Linked DNA regions of Homo sapiens: region 1 is linked to region 2. Evidence: promoter capture Hi-C in 16 types of primary human blood cells and fetal thymus (Javierre and others, 2016). All regions are on one chromosome and are shown on one strand. Each heading gives the region's core, a stretch centred on a gene start or on the middle of the fragment in contact. The rest is flanking DNA. Distances are from core to core; before and after follow the strand shown. Region 1 overlaps TM2D3 (TM2 domain containing 3). Region 2 holds the start of PCSK6 (proprotein convertase subtilisin/kexin type 6).

The links. The method cuts DNA at HindIII sites, captures the fragments that hold promoters and counts their contacts. A CHiCAGO score of 5 or more calls a contact.
Region 1: a fragment that was not itself captured here is called in contact with the fragment with the promoter of PCSK6 in region 2 in 1 of 17 cell types (megakaryocytes); the score reaches 5.7 in megakaryocytes.

Annotation. Positions count from the first base shown.
Region 1 is chr15:101,637,910-101,642,061 of GRCh38, reverse strand. It overlaps TM2D3 (TM2 domain containing 3), which reads left to right. Exons shown (of 6, transcript NM_078474.3): 6 at 1-214. Among named protein-coding and RNA genes, the nearest start is that of TM2D3, 12 kb to the left of the region's middle. RefSeq lists a silencer at 620-779. The HindIII fragment of the contact is 2,280 bases long and covers 449-2,728 here.
Region 2 is chr15:101,487,021-101,490,956 of GRCh38, reverse strand. PCSK6 (proprotein convertase subtilisin/kexin type 6) reads left to right here and starts at 1,250. Exons shown (of 22, transcript NM_002570.5): 1 at 1,250-1,583. The coding sequence starts at 1,287. LOC124903566 reads left to right here and starts at 1,804. Exons shown (of 2, transcript XM_047433427.1): 1 at 1,804-3,936. LOC107987228 (a long non-coding RNA gene) reads right to left here and starts at 1,190. Exons shown (of 2, transcript XR_001751730.2): 1 at 633-1,190; 2 at 1-569. The HindIII fragment of the contact is 36,171 bases long and covers 1-3,936 here.

The DNA.
Region 1 (4,152 bases), core at 339-2,838, 150 kb before region 2:
GTGGGAGTGTTTCTGTTGTTGGCTAATTGAAGTTATTAGGCTCAGCTTCAGTCATGTGTAAGTTTTGCAGTGTAATACATATGTAGTCTGGTCTGTATATATGAAAATTTGAATTAAACTGCAGAATGTTTATGTCTAGTTATGGTTTAAATTTTCTTAGTAGTATATAAAAGGTAAGAGTACTGAAAAATTAATAAAATTGCAAGTTAAGAAATACTGTGGGCCTGTTTTCTATATTAAATATAATCTTGAATAATCATTACAACTTACCTTTATTGTTAAGAATAACATTTTTATCTTTCAGGGCATTACTCCATTCTAACAGAGTCATAATTGGCTGGTTTATTGACACAGTGGAAATATATAAATGTTTTTGAGTATAGATCTGTTATAGACCCTTTATCGGGGAAAAAAAACTCAGTTATTCAAAAAGATTTTTACTCAAGCTTGCTTTTGAAACATTTAAAAACTTAGCATTTTTTCTTTCAAATGTGGGTATCTGAGTTACTGCTTTTTAAACACTTGTGTGTATTATCCAGAAGACTGTTAACCACCATATCATATCTAGAAGCTATAAAATATCTGCATATTTCATTCAGCAGATGATTTATTGATTTCAGTTTACCTGAAAGGTTTCAGTGATCACTTGCTGCTGTTTAAAGCACAGTCCTTTTCTTAGTTGAGTGACAGTTCCATCTCTCGTCGCTAGGTGGCGCATCCCCATTACATTTGCTTCCCCATTCTAGTTCCAGAAACAGAAAAAAAAACTGGTTTTGTTTTGTTTTGTTTACGAGGAACTTGTCACAGAGCATGAGCAGTTCTTCAGGATGGGAGTAACCCGGTTTATGTGGACCTTTCTTTCTGAGAGCAAAGACACACTTTTTGTATCCGTTAAACTGTTGATTGAGCAGGTGTTTCTTTAGAAGACGATCTTTTCTTCAAGAAGTAGCCCCTTTGCTAACTATAATAAAAATGTCTCCTGAGTCTCCTTATGTAGCTCTGTGTAGAAGAGAATCTAATACTTCCCTGTTGAGCAACCATGCAAGGTGGAACCAGGGAGTCGGTGGGAAGTTAGTAGGAAGTATGCATTGCCCTTGGTGGAAATAGGTAACAGCATCCTTGATTAACCATTTTTGTGGCTCTGGGGCCTGAATTAGATAATGAAGCTGCAGTGTCTGAGAGTAAAGCTCAAAGATTCAGAATCCATGAAAGGAGGCATAAATGAACTTGTTCCCAAATCCTAAAAAGTTTGCACAAGGGCATAGCCCTTGGAACCTGAAGGATGTAAGCCAGTCAGGAATGCTTCAGATCAAGGACTTTGATAGAGCTGATGGCCTGAGACAGAACTAGCAGGAAATACGAAGAGATTTTCAAATAGTACAAACAAATTTATGAACGATGAACTCATACACAGCCCCAAAAAGAAACTGCAAAGTAAAACTATACTTTCAAAGGGCACTAGGGAGTGTGGGTGCAATCTCTTGTAGCAAATCCCATGGGCCTCTGCTGGCAGCAAAATGCCATGTTGGAGTCTGACCTTCAGGTTCTATTCCTCTGCTGTCTTAGATTTTCAGGATTGCTATAACAATACCATAAACGGCGTGGCTTAACAACAGAAATTTATTTCTTAAGAGTTCTGGAAGCTAGAAAGTCCAAGATGAAGGTGCTGGTAAATTTGGTATCTGGTGAGGGCCTTCTTCCTCATAACATCTTCTCACATCCTCACATGGTAGAGGCAGGGAAGATCTCTCTGGGGCCTCTTCTATAAGGGCACTAATCCCAATCCTGAGAGCTCCACCCTCATGACCTGATCACCTCCCAAAGGTCCCACCTCCTGATACCATCATTACAGTGGTGAGGATTTCCACATGTGAATTTGGGGTGGAAAAGACACAAATACTCAGTCCATCATGTGTGAGCTATGGGCTCTGACCCAGGGATATGATTAGATAGCCATCCTGTTCACACAGGTTGGGAACCATATCAGTCAACCATCCTCTATTGATAGTTCTCTAGACACTCAGAATTTATCACTGCAGCAGGCCATCTGTCATGATTTCCCCTTAAGAATCTCTACCTTGCTTTGTCAGCTCTCTTCCATTTACCCCAGTAATGCCTCACGGGAAGGTGCTGGGTTATTTATGTCTACCCCCTCCATTGTCCCTAGAACAATGCCGTGCACACAGAGGCTCTCATTTATTTGCTGAGTTAATGCCACGGGTGTCCTCAAGGTTTTGAAGGGACTGTGTACAATTCCAGGGACTGGCAGTTGAGGTGGCTGCAAGGAGATAATATATAGAAATTGGCTTCAAGTAAATATTTGTCTGTAACACCATGTTGATCTGATTTCTGCAAATTGCTGAGGAACAACTGGTTTATGGTGCGTATAAAAAGATTTTTTCAAAGATCTTATGCTTCAAGATTTTAAAATGTAAAAATACCTTCTCTATGCCACACAACTTCATTTCTCTGTACTTTTTTTTTAATGCCTTATGCCAGACTTGCATTTATTTTGGGCATATATCATCAGCTACGGAATATGCAAATGATTTTAATTCATCCTGTAAGCAATGAGTGGAAAATGAGCTGTACCTGATGCAGCTTCTCAAATACAACATTGAAAAAGCCTGAAAATGAAGGCACTACATAAGTAGAATATGCATAAAAAGGAAAAAAAAAAACACCCAGGAAAAATGGAGGCAGATTCCTCCGCTCCTGCTCTAAAGCTTCCCCTCTGTTCTGCCCTTTTGGTAGAGTATGAAGTGTCACATGAATGTTAGGGGGTAGACACATTTTTTAAACTTTTATTGTATATACATCGTATGCGTTTCTTTCATGGTAAGAGCACTTAAAATCTACTCTTAGCAAATTTATAATATGATAACTGTAGTGATGCTATGCACTAGACCTATTGGTTAATTTTGTAACCTAGGCAAATTTGATTTAAATTCTTTTAAATGTATTGAAATTGTCTTCCATAAACACAACACTTTTATGCAAAATACGCTTTGATGGAGACACGTGGACATAATTTACTAAGGCTCCACGAAGGCAGGGCTCTGGTTCTCTGCTGTAGCTCAGCTCTGAGAGCCCTGCCGGCCATGCAGCAGGTGCACAGTGACTAGGAGTTTGATGAATGAGTAAGGAGGAATTGCTGGGAGTAAGCTAAACACCTAAAAGTATTGCTGAGAATTTTTAAAGTGGTAGAGTGCAGCTGGATTGCAGCATCTCCCTTCTCAAATACTTAAATGATAAACACACTGTAGGAAAAGCCAGCACCTCCTTCCTGCCCAAAACCAGCAAACAAATGAAAACTCCACAGCGAACAAGCAAAAGGATACAGCCAAATGCCAAAAACGTCAAAAAATTGTGAATACAGGGAAAAAAAATTATTGCTCAGGTGTGTAAGATTACTCCCGCAAATGGCCCTGCTGGCGCAACAAAACTCAGAAAGTCTCACTGGAGGCCAGACGTGGTGGCTCACACCTGCAATCCCAGCACTTTGAGAGTCCGAGGCGGGCAGATCACCTGAGGCTAGGAGTTCGAGACCAGCCTGGCCAACATGGTGAAACCCCCGTCTCTACTAAAAATACAAAACAATTAGGTGGGCGTGGTGGCAGGTGCCTGTAATCCCAGCTACTCAGGAGGCTGAGGCAGGAGAATTGCTTGAACCTGGGAGGCAGAGGCTGCTGTGAGCCGAGATCATACCATTGCACTCCAGCCTGGGCAACAAGAGCGAAACTCTGTCTCCAAAAAAAAAAAAGGTGGGGGGGTCTCACTGGTGAGGAAAAACAGGTTAATTCGGAGAAAGAGAGGTATCTATATCTTTCTCCTGTTACTGCTGGGGGAAGTGAAAAGGGCTGCTGGGAAGAGACCAGTGAGAGAGGGCTCGTGAACAAACAGGAGGGACTCTGATGGGTTCAGGGGTTCCCTGCTGAACCAGATAAAGGATCCAAAGCCTGGGGTGACCCCCAGGGGTCATTGCATCATTCCCTGGGGAGGAAACTTTGATTCAGGACATTTAGAAAATCCTAGTCAAGAAACCAGAGACCAGATATTCTAGCAAAGATATAGTCTCAGCTGAGCTTTTCCCTGCCTCACTCCTAGCTATCAGGGCACGGAATGTAGAATAGAACACAAAATACAACTTGC
Region 2 (3,936 bases), core at 1-2,500:
TCCTTCCCACCTCAAGGCCTTCTCGACCTTTTTGTTTTACTTCCTATATTAAGCAGGTTGATGGCTTGCTTTCTGGAAGTGGGCCAGTAGGACCAATGGGTCCTGGGAGGGATGACAGAAGAGATCCAGCAGCGATCCTTACCCTTCATAATTCCTTGATTATGGTGTGAACATTTCCATCCATCTCCAGGGTGCTTCAAATCATTATCCACTGGATACCAGGCTGCTCCAGGAAGCAGGGGTGAGGATGATTCAGCTGACTTTCTACTGCTGGTCCCAGCTCAGTGGGTGCTTTTAAGAGTGTACATCGTCTAGTGAACACCTACCACACGGCAGGCCCTGGGCTCATAAAAACGAACGTTTACGGACAGCTTATTGTACAGCAAAAGCTGACCTCATCCTCAAATCAGCCCGACGGGGTAGATGCCACTGTTCCCCGCATTTTGCAGGTGGGGCGCCTGCCCTCAGCCACCACAGTCATTTGCCCAAGATCGCAGCGAGGCTAAGCGGACGGCCTGGGGGTTCACCTGCACGGCCTGGGGGTTCACCTGCGCGGCCTGGGGGTTCACCTGCACGGCCTGGGGGTTCACCTGCGCGGCCTGGGGGTTCACCTGCGCGGCCTGGGGGTTCACCTGCACGGCCTGCCTCCCAGCATGGGCCGCGGCCTCCGCCATGGGCTCCGTGCGGTGGTTTCTCGGGTACACGCTCGTGAGCCCGGCTGATGCGCCACATGCCTTTGCCCCGCTCAATGTGTCCCTTCAGCCAGGCTTGGTCCCGGGCGACCCACTGTCTTCCCCGCAGCTTCTTCTCCCTGGGACCCCGCACACGGGCGAGCCCTCCGTCTAGGGAGGCGGGCGAGGCCGCCAGGCGTCTGAGGCCCCCGCCAGGTGAGTGCGGCCTTCGGGTGTCCGGCCGGTCTAGGGAACCGGGGACTCACCTGAGACGCCGGGGCCTCCCCGCTCCCAGCAGAACTCGCGGGCCGAGGACGCCTCTGGGGCGGCACCGCGTCCCGAGAGCCCCAGAAGTCGGCGGGGAAGTTCCCCCGGTGGGGGGCGTTTCGGGCCTCCCGGACGGCTCTCGGCCCCGGAGCCCGGTCGCAGGAGCGCGGGCCCGGGGGCGGGAACGCGCCGCGGCCGCCTCCTCCTCCCCGGCTCCCGCCCGCGGCGGTGTTGGCGGCGGCGGTGGCGGCGGCGGCGGCGCTTCCCCGGCGCGGAGCGGCTTTAAAAGGCGGCACTCCACCCCCCGGCGCACTCGCAGCTCGGGCGCCGCGCGAGCCTGTCGCCGCTATGCCTCCGCGCGCGCCGCCTGCGCCCGGGCCCCGGCCGCCGCCCCGGGCCGCCGCCGCCACCGACACCGCCGCGGGCGCGGGGGGCGCGGGGGGCGCGGGGGGCGCCGGCGGGCCCGGGTTCCGGCCGCTCGCGCCGCGTCCCTGGCGCTGGCTGCTGCTGCTGGCGCTGCCTGCCGCCTGCTCCGCGCCCCCGCCGCGCCCCGTCTACACCAACCACTGGGCGGTGCAAGTGCTGGGCGGCCCGGCCGAGGCGGACCGCGTGGCGGCGGCGCACGGGTACCTCAACTTGGGCCAGGTGAGTGCGGCCGGCCCCGCGCGCCCAAAACTTTCCCGGCGGCCTCCGGCGCGCGCGAGGGGGGCGCCTCCGCAGTCCTGTCCGCCCGGCCCCGGCCCCGCGCGCGCGTGGGAAGGCTCCGGGACCGCTTGGGGACGGCGGGCGGCCGGGGCGCCCTGCGGGGGGGGGTGTCGCCCGGGGGGGCGCGCGCGGGACACTCGGCGGGGTGGGGGGGACTGGGGTCCCGCGTGGGCGCCCACGCAGGTCCGGCGCGCCGACCGCAAGTCCCCCGGCAGTGCCGCCCAACCCCGCGCTCGGAAGTGTGGCCTCAGAAGCCGGGGCGGCGCGGACACCTGCCGGGCTCCGGGGGAGTCTGGGCTGCCTCAGGCGTCGCGCGCCGTCCGCCGCTGGGTCCTGGGCGCCCACCCGGCTCTCCCCCGCGGGGGAGCGGCCCCTCTGCCCTCGACGGGCGGCGCGAGCTCCGGACCCGGTGCGCGCGCCAAGGCGGCCGCGGCCGCTGCTTGGGTGACATGAGCGTGGCCCGGCGTCTCGGGGACTCGCGCTCCCTCGGTGTCCGCGGCTCCCGGGGGTAGATGGCCGGGAGCCTGCACCCTGGAGCCCGGCCGCCGTCGGAGAGGCCTTGGGACAGCGCAGGGCCGGGGGTCCTGGGTTTAAAACCTCTCCAGGAGCGGAGGGAGGGCGCTTTGTGTGGGGGCTTCTGCCGCGGTTCTGATGGCCGAGCGGTGTGACCTTTGGCAAGTCGCTCCCCTGACAAGCTCCTTTGCAGTCAGTGGCAATGTCTACACCGCTGGGTTGTCGGAAAGATCTAATGCTGCGTTGCCACAGAGCCTGGACCGGGGCCTGACCCTCACCGGCCCCCACGGGGCCCTCCCAGCCCCGCAGCCCTCGGCTGTCCCCTCTTCTGTCAGTGAGCAAGCAGGCCACGCCCTGGGCACAAAGGCGGCATTACCCTCAAAGGACCTCCCGGCGGGTCCCTTTTTCCTCTCTCAACCAGCTACCGGGCTGAGGGGCGGTGAGTTGGGGTTGATCCATGTTTATGGCTCCTGGAGAGGCCGTTATTTTGAGGTCACACCAGGGGACCTCTCAGTGCAGTTAACAAATCTACAAACTACACACTCAGAGGGTTAAGTGAAGTGACAGGGAAGCACCGACTCATAACTCTAAACCTTAGTGCCAGGCAGTGTTAAATGTAGTTTCATCGTTATCCGTGGCAGAAGCCAGCAAGGTGTGGTGGCGTCCCTGATTGATAGAAATGACATTAGTTCTGCATCCCAAGCCCCACGTTGATGTACTATTAGGTGTGTGGCTGGAGGGGTGGATTCCACCATTCGAATGAAGGAATCTTCACAAGGCAGGTTCGAGTTTACTGAAAGAATGCTAGCACATCTTTGGAGACCTTTTAAATATATGCATATATATATATAAAATGTTACATATATACACATATACACACATACATATACGCACATGTATATCCATATAGATATTTAGTTTTTTTAACCACTCAAGGCCCTCCAAACATCCTGTGATTTCAGATTTTGCCGTCGGGTAGCACTGACTTCGTTTGTCTCTGTAGTTCTTGACTCTCCCTGGCTGATTGTCCAGGCTGAAGAAGGTGTTCCTCATGTTTGCGTAGTGCCCCTGGCTCCTGCCACACTTCGCTGCTGTGCCCAGGTGGCCCAGCAATTTGTCTTCAGCTAAAAGTGACTCTTAAACTACGCGATAAATTACAAAGTGCCTGGGTTTTGGGATTCTAAAATTAAATGAGCAGAATGGAGCTGAAATTGAGCTGTGAGCTCACACTGCAAGAGAGAGGCAGAGAGGCACAGGTAACTCTCCCCGGAAATTTCTATCTGTGGGAATAAAAATGCCTAACCCTTGGCCATGCCGCCCCTTTGAGACAACCTCTGTCAGGCTCACTGAGTTCTTAGTGCAGTCTGCTCTCCTGGTTTTGCGGATGGGAGAGAAGATTCGCCCCGATGCACACTCCGTACCCAGGATATTCTGGGGAGTTAATCGGGGTCTCCCCAGCTCTGTCTAGTGCAGCCAGCATGAATGCCACGCAGCCCGGTCACTCAGGCATGGTGCTGGCAGTGGCACTGCGGTGACATTCACTAACAGAGATTAGCTGGTTGGGGATAGGAGCTGTCTCAGAGGCTTGTGTGTGATTACTCACGGAGGGCCTATTACTCTTTATTCCAAAACGAGCTTTTCTTTCCCCCCTCTAAGTGCACTGCTAATGTGGAAAAGGCCTGGAGCATTTGAGCCTCTACCCACTCAATAAGAACTCTTTGAAAACCTTATTTGCCTTTTTTTCAGCCAGGAGAATTTGTGACTCATAAATAAGATGTAG